Regions from separate parts of the Homo sapiens genome. Here region 2 is linked to region 1. Evidence: promoter capture Hi-C in human tissues and cell types (Jung and others, 2019). All regions are on one chromosome and are shown on one strand. Each heading gives the region's core, a stretch centred on a gene start or on the middle of the fragment in contact. The rest is flanking DNA. Distances are from core to core; before and after follow the strand shown.

Region 1 (6,266 bases), core at 263-2,762:
CCCATAGAGCAGGGCCTGGCATATAGCAAACATTATGTAATTGATAACTCAAAATTGAAAATACAAGGAGAAAGAGAATTACCTCATGTATTCTTCATGGTACATCTGTGAGTTGGCTACTGTTATGTCCGTTTATAAGGAGGAAAACTAACAACCTGGAGGTGCCTGGGAATAATGTTACTGCCTATAAAGATGCTTTGATTGACCAAACATTAATCGGATTTCTGAATCTTCTCCTAAGCCCATCAGTGAGGTTCCTTATAAAAATTCAGTTTTGGGCCAGGCGAGGTGGCTCACGTCTGTAATCCCAGCACTTTGGGAGGTGGAGGCAGGTGGATCATGAGGTCAGGAGTTCAAGACCAGCCTGGCCAAGATGGTGAAATCCAACTCTACTAAAAAATACAAAAATTAGCCGGGCACGATGGCGGGTGCCTATAATCCCAGCTACTCGGGAGTCTGAGGCAGAAGAATCGCTTGAACCTGGAAGGCGGAGGTTGCAGTGAGCGGAGATGGCGCAACTGCGCTCTAGCCTGGGGGACAGAGTGAGACTCTGTCTCAAAAAAAAAAAAGAAAAGAAAGAAAGAAAAATTCAGTTTTGGCATGAACTCTGCTAAGTCTGTTTAGTAGCAACCACCCATCTTCGATTTCTGATCACCCTCGATATCTGATTAGTTTCCTCATCCTCCGCGGTCCCCCAGGTGATGTCTGAGCACCCTGGCCTGTCTTCAGCAAGAATCCTCTTAGGTTAGCTGAGCCCGAATCCCTCTGACTCCTGGACTTCCCTCCTAGTAAATTTCCATTCGCTGACCCCCCACCTGCTTCTTGGCTACAAATTCACACTTACCCATGACCTACTGGGAATCAAGTCTAATCTTTCTCCCTCACTGCAAAATCCCATTGCAGGGGTCCCTACATCTATGGAGAAAGTTTCCCTGCCCAGTAAAGTCTTGCTTGTCATACTTTAACAAGCGTCATATGAATATATATATACACATTAAAAAAATTTTTTTTTTCCTTTACCAATCTCCCCAGAGGGCATTGAGGCTCTAGGAGCTTGGCCATCTTGTAAGTGGGGATTGCAACCCAGGGCCATCCTTCAAATCCACTGGGCTCCTGTCTCTCTCTTCCCTTTCTGCAGGTCCCCAGGGGAAAGGCAGGATACGACACGCTCTAGGGAAGGTATTTCCAGAGGGTGACCTGAGCCCTCAGCCAGGCTCGGGGTTATTAATAGCCAGGCCTTAGTGCCCCGCTCGGGGAGGGCGGCTCCAGCTCCTGGAGCAAGAGGAGGGCGGAGCTGAGCGGAGTGGCCAGGGGAGGAGAGAGTGTCCGGAGAGGCCGGCTGAACTTGGACGCGGCCCCTCCCAGCTCCCCCCACAGCCCAGCTGTTCCCTCCGCGGATTCTCCGGGGCTGGTTCATCACCTCCGAATATTCCTGTGACAGGAGACGCTTGCAAAACCCGCCTCCAGCCTCCAGCAGCAAATAAATAGAAGGCTTGCAGCCCAGAAGGAGCCAGAAGAAGTTTCTAGGCGCGCGTGCCCTGGGTTTATTAAGCTCCTGGCTCCGCTCTAGACCTCAGCGGTTCTGGCTGCCAGCCTGGGCAGCCTGGGAAGCCTGGGAGGACGGTGGCTTGCCGGTCTGTCGTGAGGCAGTGCGGACGGGGACCCTCTGGGATTCTGCTGGATCTGCCCCGGGGGTTACCTTTGGGGGCTGGGACCCCAGTCGAGGGGACACAACCGTCCCTGGCAGTGGTTGGTTCTGCTTCTCCCTGCAGAAAAGCAGCATTTTCGGAAGCTGAAGAATAAGCTAGCCCAGCCACACCACCTTGTTGTGTGACCTTGGGCAGGTGGTTCTGTCTCTCTGAGCCTCTGTTTCTCTCTGAGCTGAGCAGCCACCATGGCTGACGGTCAGATGCCCTTCTCCTGCCACTACCCAAGCCGCCTGCGCCGAGACCCCTTCCGGGACTCTCCCCTCTCCTCTCGCCTGCTGGATGATGGCTTTGGCATGGACCCCTTCCCAGACGACTTGACAGCCTCTTGGCCCGACTGGGCTCTGCCTCGTCTCTCCTCCGCCTGGCCAGGCACCCTAAGGTCGGGCATGGTGCCCCGGGGCCCCACTGCCACCGCCAGGTTTGGGGTGCCTGCCGAGGGCAGGACCCCCCCACCCTTCCCTGGGGAGCCCTGGAAAGTGTGTGTGAATGTGCACAGCTTCAAGCCAGAGGAGTTGATGGTGAAGACCAAAGATGGATACGTGGAGGTGTCTGGTAAGTCAGGGGCAGGAGGGAGAGAGAATGGGGAGGCCGGGATGTAGCCCTCAGCCCTGGGAATAGCCAGAGAAAGTTTCCTGGGAGCTGACGTTGGGACAGTGTGACACAGGTGACCTCAGGGCTCAGGAATGCAGCCTGCAAAGTTATCTTTACGGAAAACTTCTCTCCCGGCTCCCAGCAGAGATCTTAACCTGCCTGACTCAGCTATTGGGGCCTCTGGGTGCTCATCAATCATGGTACAGACAGGAAAATAGAAACCATGTTGGATATTTTGACAGAGGGCATTTAATATAAAGAATAGGTTAAGCAGATATCAAAGAATTAAAAAACAAAGAAGAAACGGGATTTTGTGCACTCCAGCATCATAACAGAGTCTAGAAGTGCACGTTAAGGCTGAACAATGATAGTGTTAATAACCGCAACTGGTTTCCGGTGAAACACCTCTCCTTGTCCCAGACAGGGAAACTGAGGCTTACCAGTAATTGTAGTAACACTAACTGGTAACTCTGAGTGCTAACTATTCGCTCAGCACTTTGCTAACTGCTGTTGCCTATAATATCTCAGCTAATACCACAACCAGAGGAGGTGGGTACTGTTTATCTTCTTTTTTCAGATGAGGAAACTGAGGCACGGAGAGATTAAAGTAACTTGTTCAAGGCCACCAAGGAGTCAGACCCAGGTTGTCTGGGAATTAGGAGGCCAGAAAGAAGAAGTGATGATTTACTGAGCACCTACTAGGTGCCAAGGGTGGGCTGACATTCTTATACTTCTCCAAAATCATCCTCAGTCCACTCCAGGGTAGCAGGGTAGGCCCATCTTGCAGCTGAGGAGGCTGAGGCCTAGGTGGGACTCGTTCACAGTCATGCCATGAGTCAGCAATAGGAGTGGAGTAGGGACTGGGCCTATGCACAGCTTTAGGCCCAGGGCTCTCACTGCCGCATCCCACCCTGGGAGAAATAAACATACTAGGGGGAAAAATGAGAGAAGACAGGAAGCTCAGCCCCTGTGAAGCTGGGCAGTAGAAAAATCTTTCTTTTCCTTCCCTCCTGATTAACACTCCATTAAAAAGAATGTGTTCCCGGCAGAGGCTTGCCTTCCAGAAAATCAGTCAAAGCCATTGCAAACACAGGCTGGGCAGGAACAAGCCCCAGCAGCATTCAGGGGGAGTTTCAAGCCAGTCCTGGTAGAATTATAAACATCAGAGGCTCCAGCGGGTGTGGTGGGCTGGGAGACACGCTGGGGCCACGTGCTGATGACAGGGTCAGCCAGATTTCTGAGTTGGCTGGGGAGCAGGGCATGAGTTCCGAAACTGGCTCCAACTTTAACCAGCAGGATGTGCAAATTACTTCACTTTGTGCTTCTGTTTTGTTTCCTCATCTGGAAATTAGGGTTCAAATGGTTATACCATAAGGATTGTTGTTTTAAGTGAGGTGATGCTGTAAAATGTGTACATACCTGTGAACCCAGAAAATCTGAGACAGATCTCAGTTCATTTAGGAAGTTTATTTTGCCGAGGTTGAGGACACTCCCATGACACAGCCTCAGGAAGTCCTCCTGTCACATGCCCAAGGTGGTCTGGGCACAGCTTAATTTTATACATTTTAGAGAGACATGAGACATCAATCAATATATGTAAGAAGTACATTGGTTCGATCTAGAAATGCAGGACAACTTGAAGCAGGGAGGGGTTTTCCAGGTCACAGGTAGGTGAGAGACAAATGGTCGCATTCTTTTGAGTTTCTGATTAGCCTTTCCAAAGGAGACAAACAGATAATGCATCTATGTCAGTGAGCAGAGGGCTGCCTTTGAATAGAATGGGGGGTAGGTTGGCCCTAAACAGTTCCCAGCTTGACTTTTCCCTTTAGCTTAGTGATTTGGGGGCCCCAAGATTTATTTTCCTTTCACATTCTATGACCTGGAACACAAGGAATTAGTATTATTATTGTCGTCGTTATTGTTATAGTGTCAGGCATCCAGGAAGGCCCCAATAAATAATGAATAATAGATGCTCTTTGAAACCTGGGTTCAGATCCCAGCACTGCTGTTCACTAGCATGGCGGATGTGGACGAGAAAGTCTTCATCCCTCTGAGCCTCATTTCTCCTATTTGCAGAATGGAGACCATAATAATATCTGTCCTGTAAGGGTGTAGGAAAGATTAAACATATGCAGACTATCTATGATAATATATGCGGAGTGTCTATAAAATGGAGCTAATAATAGTGCTTGCCTGGCACTCTGTAAACAGACCGATTATCACCATTCCTTCTGTCCTTGTTTTAATTAGGGTCTTAGATGCTTCTAGCCCAAGTCCAAGGGTCGACTCCACCCTGTGGTCCCTCTAGGAGACCCTCTGTCCAGCCTGGAGGGTTTTTCACCATCCTCTTTTGTAGGTGCTTCATAACAGGTGGGGTCTGGCAGCTCCATGTTGAGATCTCAGCTAAGTATCTTACTAATCCAGAGGCTTTGGGTGAGTCATGCAGTCTCAATTTCCACGTCTGTAAAATGGGGTCATTGGGAGCTTAAATAAGACAAAGACAAAGCTTTTCAGACATGCAATTAGTGACATCGGCTAGACAAAATCCAAATTCCCTGAGAGTCCATACAAGGGCTTTCATAAAAGGGGTTTAAAAATAAAATTGATATCAGGAGCTCTATTTAAGAAGCAACTTTCGGGCCGGGTGCGGTGGCTCATGCCTGTAATCCCAGCATTTTGGGAGGCCAAGGCGGGAGGATCGCTTAAGGTCAGGAGTCTGAGACCAGTCTGGTCAACATGGCGAAACCCCGTTCTACTAAAAATACAAAAATTAGCCGGGTGTGGTGGTGAGCGCCTGTAATCCCAGCTACTCAGGAGTCTGAGGCAGGAGAATCGCTTGAACCTGGGAGGTGGAGGTTGCAGTGAGCTGAGACCGTGCCACTGCATTCCAGCCTGGGCAACAAGAAAGAAATTCTGTCTCAAAAAAAATAAAAAATAAAAATAAATAAAAAGCAATTTTCAAGGGAAGTTGGAAGTCAGATCCAGTTTCCCACCCTATACCACAAAATGACAAATCCGTTCCTCCACAAGCACGTGCTAAAGGCCTACATGTGGTGGCTCAGTGGTTCCTCACAAGGACCTCCTAGGAAGTGTGGGTAGGTTTGTTAACCCCATTATACAGATAAGGAAGCCGAGGCCCAGAGAAAGTAACTCACCTGAGATTACCCACTTCTCCCTGGCAGTGTCTGACATTCAATGTCAGGCCTCTCTGGCTGGTTCTGAGTCAGGATGGCTGGATCTACTTCTGGCGGTGTGGCCCTGAGCAAATCCCACAGCCTCTGGAGCCTCAGTTTTACTGTTGGTCTTATGAAGAGGTAGACAAGATCAGAATTTACCAATGTACTTCAAGCTGTTACTAGGCATCTAGAAACAGGAGCAGGAGAGTTCAAGGTCTTGTATGGTGCCAGTAAAAACAAAATTATAAACAGGTCTTCTCACTGCAGGACTTATCAGAGCCTTTAAGTCACTAATGTAGTTTATGAATCTCTAAGAGGCAGCCCTATCTTATCTGACCACGTATGAGTGTCTCATTCAAGGAAGTGTTTGGAAAATGCTGGACTAGACAATTTCCAGCAAGCCTCAGATTCCCCTACCCCCATCCTGCAACCACCAGCCAAGAAATGTTCCCTTCATGGGCCACTGGGCCAGACCCTGGCTAAGATAGAGACTGGAAAGCCCCAAGGCCTTATTTCCACCCCTTCTCCTTAGTCCCAGGGACTCTGCCTTCCCTGGAAACAGCACTTTCTTTCTTTAGCTGGGCCAATAGTGTTCCACCTACATTTCTCTGAGGCATGTTGAAAAAAGCATGTCTGCAAGGGGTTTCTGACTTCTCCTAGCCTCTGGATGTATTTCTAAAAATCATAATAATTACTTTTTTCAGTTTACAAAAATAAAATGTCTTCATGATAAAATATGTAGTTAGGAAAGCAAAATAAGAAATTAAAAATCACTCATAATCCTTAAGCT
Region 2 (6,162 bases), core at 1,671-4,170, 39 kb after region 1:
CACTCTGCCTGAGTTCAACTCTCCACTCTGCCTGAGTTCAAATGTTTACTCTGCCTGAATGCAAATCTCCACTCTGCCTGAGTTCACATCTCCACTCTGTCAGAGTCCAAATCGTTACCCTGCCTGAGTGCAATTTCCAACCCTGCCTAAGTGCAAATCCCCACTCTGCCCTCAACTAACTAGAGGATCTTAGGCAAGTCACTTCACCTATCCAAACCTCAGCATCGTCATTAGTAAAGGGGTAATTTTCATTACCAACTCCTCGGGTTGACTAAGGGAGATAATGCTCACAGTGTCTTTGGGACATGGCAGTGAATGGCAGGCAACATGAACCCCTCTCTCTCTTTTCTCTTCTGCTTTTTTGTTTCCTCTCATGAAGGTGCCCAAAGGGTCAAAATGGTGTTTGGGGACACAACAGTGCTTTCTTACTCTCCGAGGCTTCTAATGCAACTCATAGCCTTTGAATAGGGTTGTCATCTCATGACTCCCACGGTGATTGCAGGATGCCTGTCCTCAGACTGGCCGAAAGCCAGACAGACCACCAGTCTACCAATTTCTGAATTTGCCAAAAATGTTCTTGAAGACTAGCCTTCCTGAATATATCCAATGAATATTAATATGGTCTGCTTAATATATTAGTCTTGAACATATTCAGAGAACATATCCTTCTCAGCAGCATTTTAAGCTTAATTTGTCTAACACTAAATATCATGGGGGCTGTTTAGCTTTCTTATGACTATCTGCTAATGAAGAATAGATTATTGAATATCTTAAACAGAGTCTTGAATATAATTAAAATATCCTGGCTACATTTTTGGATAAGAGTATTCAAGAAGCATAAATTCACTGAGAATTACCATTGAACTGATTAAAAGAGCATATTATGAGAATGTAGTCATTGACTATGTTCAAGAGCAGGATGTTCGTCTTCAGTAATTATATTTGATAAGAGTTTTCCTTAAAATACAGTTTTGGAAAACTGGCAAATTTGACCGATTGGATCGATTGATTTCAAGCATCTTGATTATTTTAGGGAACTACTGATCATGGAGTTGATTTTTGATAAATTGGCCAAATTGACTGTGAACTGCTGGGGCAGACAAACAGAGTGCCCCCTGTGAGGTCTGCGGGGAGGTCCACAAAGATTCACCTCCAACTTCCTTTGTGCTCAACTTCGGCCAAAGCCCTAACCCTCCAGCTCTACTCCAACTCTCTGGAGCACCCCTACTCTCTCTGGGCACTGAAGGCCACCCACATTTTAAGAGGACCCTGTCCTCTTTATTAGCTTCCACATACAAGTATGCATTTTTTCTTTTTGAGACGGAATGTCACTCTGTTGCCCAGGCTGGAATGCAGTGGTGCTATCTCGGCTTACTGCAACCTCTGCCTCCCGGGTTCAAGCCATTCTCCTTAACTCAGCCTTCTGAGTAGCTGGGATTACAAGCGCCCGCCACCATGCCCAGCTAACTTTTTGTGTTTTTAGTAGAGATGGGGTTTCACCATGTTGACCAAGTTAGTCTCGAACTCCTGACCTCAAATGATCCGCCCATCTCAGCCTCCCAAAGTGCCGGGATTACAGGCGTGAGCCACCGCACCCAGCCCTCAAGTATGTATTTATGCTGCAGGAATGTGGATCATGGACTAAGAGCCAAAACTCAAATACGTAACTCTGAGTTTGAATCCTATTTCTGCTGCTGACTGGCTGTGTGATCTTAGGTAACTGACATAACCTCTCTGGGCTTTAGTTTCTTCTGTAAACCAAGGTGAAAATAGTTCCAACTCTAGAGAATTGCATCAAGGATTTCATGAGATCAGCCCTTAAAGTGCTGAGCACAGTGCCTGGCACATAGTAAGAGCTCAATGCATGATAGCTCTCATTGTCGTTATTGTTGTAATCTGAGAAATTTGCTTCTAGTTTTAGGGAAATCCCTTCATATCTCTAGTCTTTGGTTTCCTTCTCTGTAAAATTTAAAATGGTAAAGGCAGACTAGATCCATCCTTCTCAAAGAGAGATTAGAGGCTTCCAGAGGGCTCCCACTACACTTTCAGGGGGTCCACGAGATCAAAACTATTTTTTGTAACACTACTAAGGTGTTATTTGCCTTTTTCACTCTCATACTCTCATGAGTAGAGAGAAAAATTTCGCTTAGTCAACATGACCAGTGATATCACAATAGAATGAAGGCAGGAGCAGCAATGAGAATCCAGTCATCATTGAATGTTGAACATCTGAGAGATTTGCAAAAATATAAAACAATGTACTTCTTCTCGGTTTTTTGGAAAATATAGTTATTTTTCATAAAAATATGATATTTTTGTTAACATCACATGGGTTGCCTATTGTTTTTAAATGGATTTATACATAAATATTTTAAAAATGTGTCAGTTTTAATTTCTAAAGTAGTAAATAATGATAGCTATATCTATACAAACACATTATTTGGGGTCTTCAGTAATTTTTAAGAGTCTAAAGTGTCCAGAGATCAATACGTTTGAGAATTACTAGATTAGATTATTTCAATAGGTCCAAGAGTCTGGGGTTGTTACATGCCAGGCCCTCAATATATGTTGCTCATTCATCTTCATTCACTTATTCATACTGCAACAGACATTTAAGGAGTAGTTCCTATGTGCCAGGCACTTTGCAAGTTGCTGGGGGTATAATGGAGGAAAAGACACAGTTTCTGGTAGGGAATACATGAACATACTTGTTCATTGAGTGATATAGACACACAAACCCGATGATAGTCCTTATGAGGCAAGAGGAAGACAGGCTGGTGTGAGCTTAGAAGTAGGGTGGCAGGAACAAGATGACACCACAGGCAAGGAGTGTTAGCAAAGAATTCTCAATCACATTTGCAGGAATGCGCTTGGAACTGAGAGGGAGATTCGGGCAAGGAATCAAGGTGGGGCTCAGAGGGGCACACAGGGGTTGAGGGTTCAAACATCTTGGACTGTGATTCAGGAATGATGACCTCTGTCTTTGAGCCAGGTGAGAACAGCACCTCAGAGAGAGACAGCCACAACAGACATGGGTTACCTAGGAGACATCTGATGCTCTGTCTTGCAGCTGTTCATACATGTGCTTCTTTCTGCCTGTAACATTGTGGCCTGTCCTCAGTTTTCTTCAGGTGGCCAATGCTCCTACCTTTAGCACTCTGCTTCTTCTAGCTATCTCCTCTTATACCCGGGGCTCCCAAGACAGACTGCATAACCATCAATGCACCTGTCACTGGATCATCCACACCTACTTCCCTCCCTTACCAGACTGTAAGTTTCTTTTTTTCTTTCTTTCTTTTCTTTTCTTTTCTTTTTTTTTTTCTTAGACAGAGTCTCTCTCTGTTGCCCAGGCTGGGGTGCAGTGGCACAGTCTCAGCTTACTGCAATCTCCACCTCCTGGGTTCAAGCAATTCTTGTGCCTCAGCCTCCTGAGTAGCTGGAATTATAGGCGTGCACCACAATGCCAGGCTAATTTTTGTATTTTTTGTAGAAAAAGGGTTTCACATGTTGGCCAGGCTGGTCTCGAACTCCCAACCTCAAGTGGTCTGCCCTCCTCGGCCTCCCAAAGTGCTGGGATTAACAGGCACAATCCACTACACCTGGCCCTTTAGACTGTAAGTTTCTTGAAGAATAAAATGGCACTCTGTCCCCATCATACTTGTGGGGAATAGCTCAGAACTTGTATACAATAAGCGTCATCGGCAGCAGCATCATTGCCATCATCATTATTAAAGCCATCATTTGGGTTCATGTTTTTTTTTTTTTTTTGCACTGTCACCACGTGCTAAACATTTTATAGATCTGAACTCATAAAGCTTAACTCTTTTAATCATTATCACAATACCCAGGTGGTATTAGGTCACACTCTATGAAACTGCCATTTTCTGTAGGTTAAAACAGTCCAATATTAACAATTTCCTGTGGTTCAATCAAATATATTTTAGTGCCCCCATGTGACAGATGAGAAAATTGAGGCACTAAAAGACAATTATTTGATGAGTAATGAATAAATGAATGAATATCGGGGGAAATTCACCCCCGATATTTCACGTAGGTTCTTTTCTACTTTCCCTAAGTGTCAGCTGGTCTGAGAAATAAAGGGAAAGAGTACAGAAGACAGAAATTTTAAAGCTGGGTGTCCGGAGGAGACATCACATGTCAGCAGGTTCTGTGATGCCCCCCAAGCAGCAAAACCAGCAAGTTTTTGTTAGTGATTTTCAAAAGGGGAGGGAGTGTATGAATAGGGTGTGGGTCACAGAGATCACATGCTTCACAAGGTAATAAAATATCACAAGGCAATTGGAGGCAGGGTGAGATCACAGGACCACAGGACCCAGGCAAAATTAAAATTGCTAATGAAGTTTCGGGCATGCATTGTCATTGATAACATCTTATCCAGAGACAGGGTTTGAGAGCAGACAACCGGTCTGACCAAAATTTATTAGGCGGGAATTTCCTTGTTCTAATAAGCCTGGAAGCACTACGGGAGACCGGGGCTTATTTCATCCCTTATTAAGCCGTAAAAGACAGCCGCCCCCAAAGCAGCCATTTCAGAGGCCTCCCCTTACGGACATGTTCTCTTTCTCAGGCATGTTCCTTGCTGAGAAAAAGAATTCAGCAATATTTCTCCTATTTGCTTTTGAAAGAAGAGAAATATGGCTCTGTTCTGCCCGGCCCACAGGCAGCCAGATTTTAAGGTTATCTCCCTTGTTGCCTGAACATTGCTGTTATCCTGTTCTTTTTTCAAGGTGCCCAGATTTCATATTGCTTAAACAATTTGTGCAGTTAATGCAATTATCACAGGGTCATCCTCAGCTTGTGAAGATGATGGGATTAAGAGATTAAAGTAAAGACAGGCATAGGAAATCACAAGAGTATTGATTGGGGAAGTGATGAGTGTCCATTAAATCTTTATAATTTATGTTCAGAGATTGTAGTAAAGACAGGTGTAAGAAATTATAAAAGTATTAATTTGGGGAACTAATAAATGTCCATGAAATCTTCACAATTTATGTTCTTCTGCCATGGCTTCAGCCAGTCCCTCCGTTCGGGGTCCCTGACTTCCCGCAACAAATGAATAAATGAATCCTTAGAAATGAGAAAACTGATCTATGGTGAGCCCCCACTGTGCACCAGGCCCTTTGCAGGCATTCTTTCATCTTTGTAATGTGGCCTCATCCAAAGAGATTTTTAAGCGGGGGAATGATCAGTCAGGTTGCGTGCAGATGCATTACTTCATTTAATTCTTACCATGTCCTGAGGAGGGAAATAGGCAACTGTTACCACTACTGAAAAGATGAGAAAACTGAGGCTCAGAGATGTGAAGGGGCTTTCCAAGATCACACAGCCAGGCAGCAACAGAGGTAGGATTTCAACCCAGGTCCATCTGATTCCCTTCCTCAGGTCAGAAAACACATAAGGGAGGCTTCTCATTGTTGTGTAGCAGGTGGGAAGCTCAGAGCCCCTCATTATGGAGGGAGTCTGTATTAGTCAGCTCTGGCTGCCGTAACAAAATACTCCAATGGTTTGGTTTAAACACAACTGAAATTTATTTTCTCACATTTCTGGAGCTGAAAGTCCAAGATTGAGGTACTGGTAAATTCAGCTTCTGGTGAGGGCTCCCTTCCTGGCTTGCAGACAGCCACCTTCTTGCTCTCAGAGGGAGAGAGAGAGAGATAGAGAGAGAGAGATTCTCTTCTTATAAGCCTACTAATCCCATTGGATCAGGGCCTCATGCTCATGACTTCATCTAATCTTAATTACTTCCTTAGAGGTCCCATCTCCAAATACAGCCACATTAGCAGTTGAATTTTGGTGGGACACAAACACTCAGTCAGGGTCATTTCCAGTTACCCCCACCTCCCTGCTCTGAATTCTACTATCCACACCCCACTGAGAGAGAAACTGCTAGCGGTGAAAACAAAAGCCTCCTCACTCCTAAAGGGGAGAGACAGTAAAGGCAAAAGAACGATTCACCCAAGCAGCTAATATTTACAAACTTGCCAAAACCTTCCCCGACTTCCCACACAAACACAGACACCAGAGGCTTACTGCTGTCTCAGTTTATTGTACTAAAAATATTTGCCAGCACAAGGTTTTTATTAGTAGTGTGATTAGGATTATTATTTTTTTTCCACAGACAAAATCGTTACTGGAGTAGGA

Evidence for each region. The method cuts DNA at HindIII sites, captures the fragments that hold promoters and counts their contacts. A contact is called where the count stands out against the background at its distance.
Region 2: a contact is called between a fragment that was not itself captured here and the fragment with the promoter of HSPB8 in region 1, in 6 of the 25 tissues and cell types used here (adrenal gland, hippocampus, neural progenitor cells and 3 more).

What each region holds. Positions count from the first base shown.
Region 1 is chr12:119,177,419-119,183,684 of GRCh38, forward strand. HSPB8 (heat shock protein family B (small) member 8) reads left to right here and starts at 1,513. Exons shown (of 3, transcript NM_014365.3): 1 at 1,513-2,261. The coding sequence starts at 1,895. HSPB8-AS1 (HSPB8 antisense RNA 1) reads right to left here. Exons shown (of 3, transcript XR_007063482.1): 2 at 5,456-5,603; 3 at 3,749-4,784. RefSeq lists an enhancer at 1,116-1,865. The HindIII fragment of the contact is 13,927 bases long and covers 1-6,266 here.
Region 2 is chr12:119,214,575-119,220,736 of GRCh38, forward strand. LOC105370026 (a long non-coding RNA gene) reads left to right here. Exons shown (of 3, transcript XR_945438.3): 3 at 6,140-6,162. Among named protein-coding and RNA genes, the nearest start is that of HSPB8-AS1, 34 kb to the left of the region's middle. RefSeq lists an enhancer at 4,122-4,623. The HindIII fragment of the contact is 6,029 bases long and covers 1-5,935 here.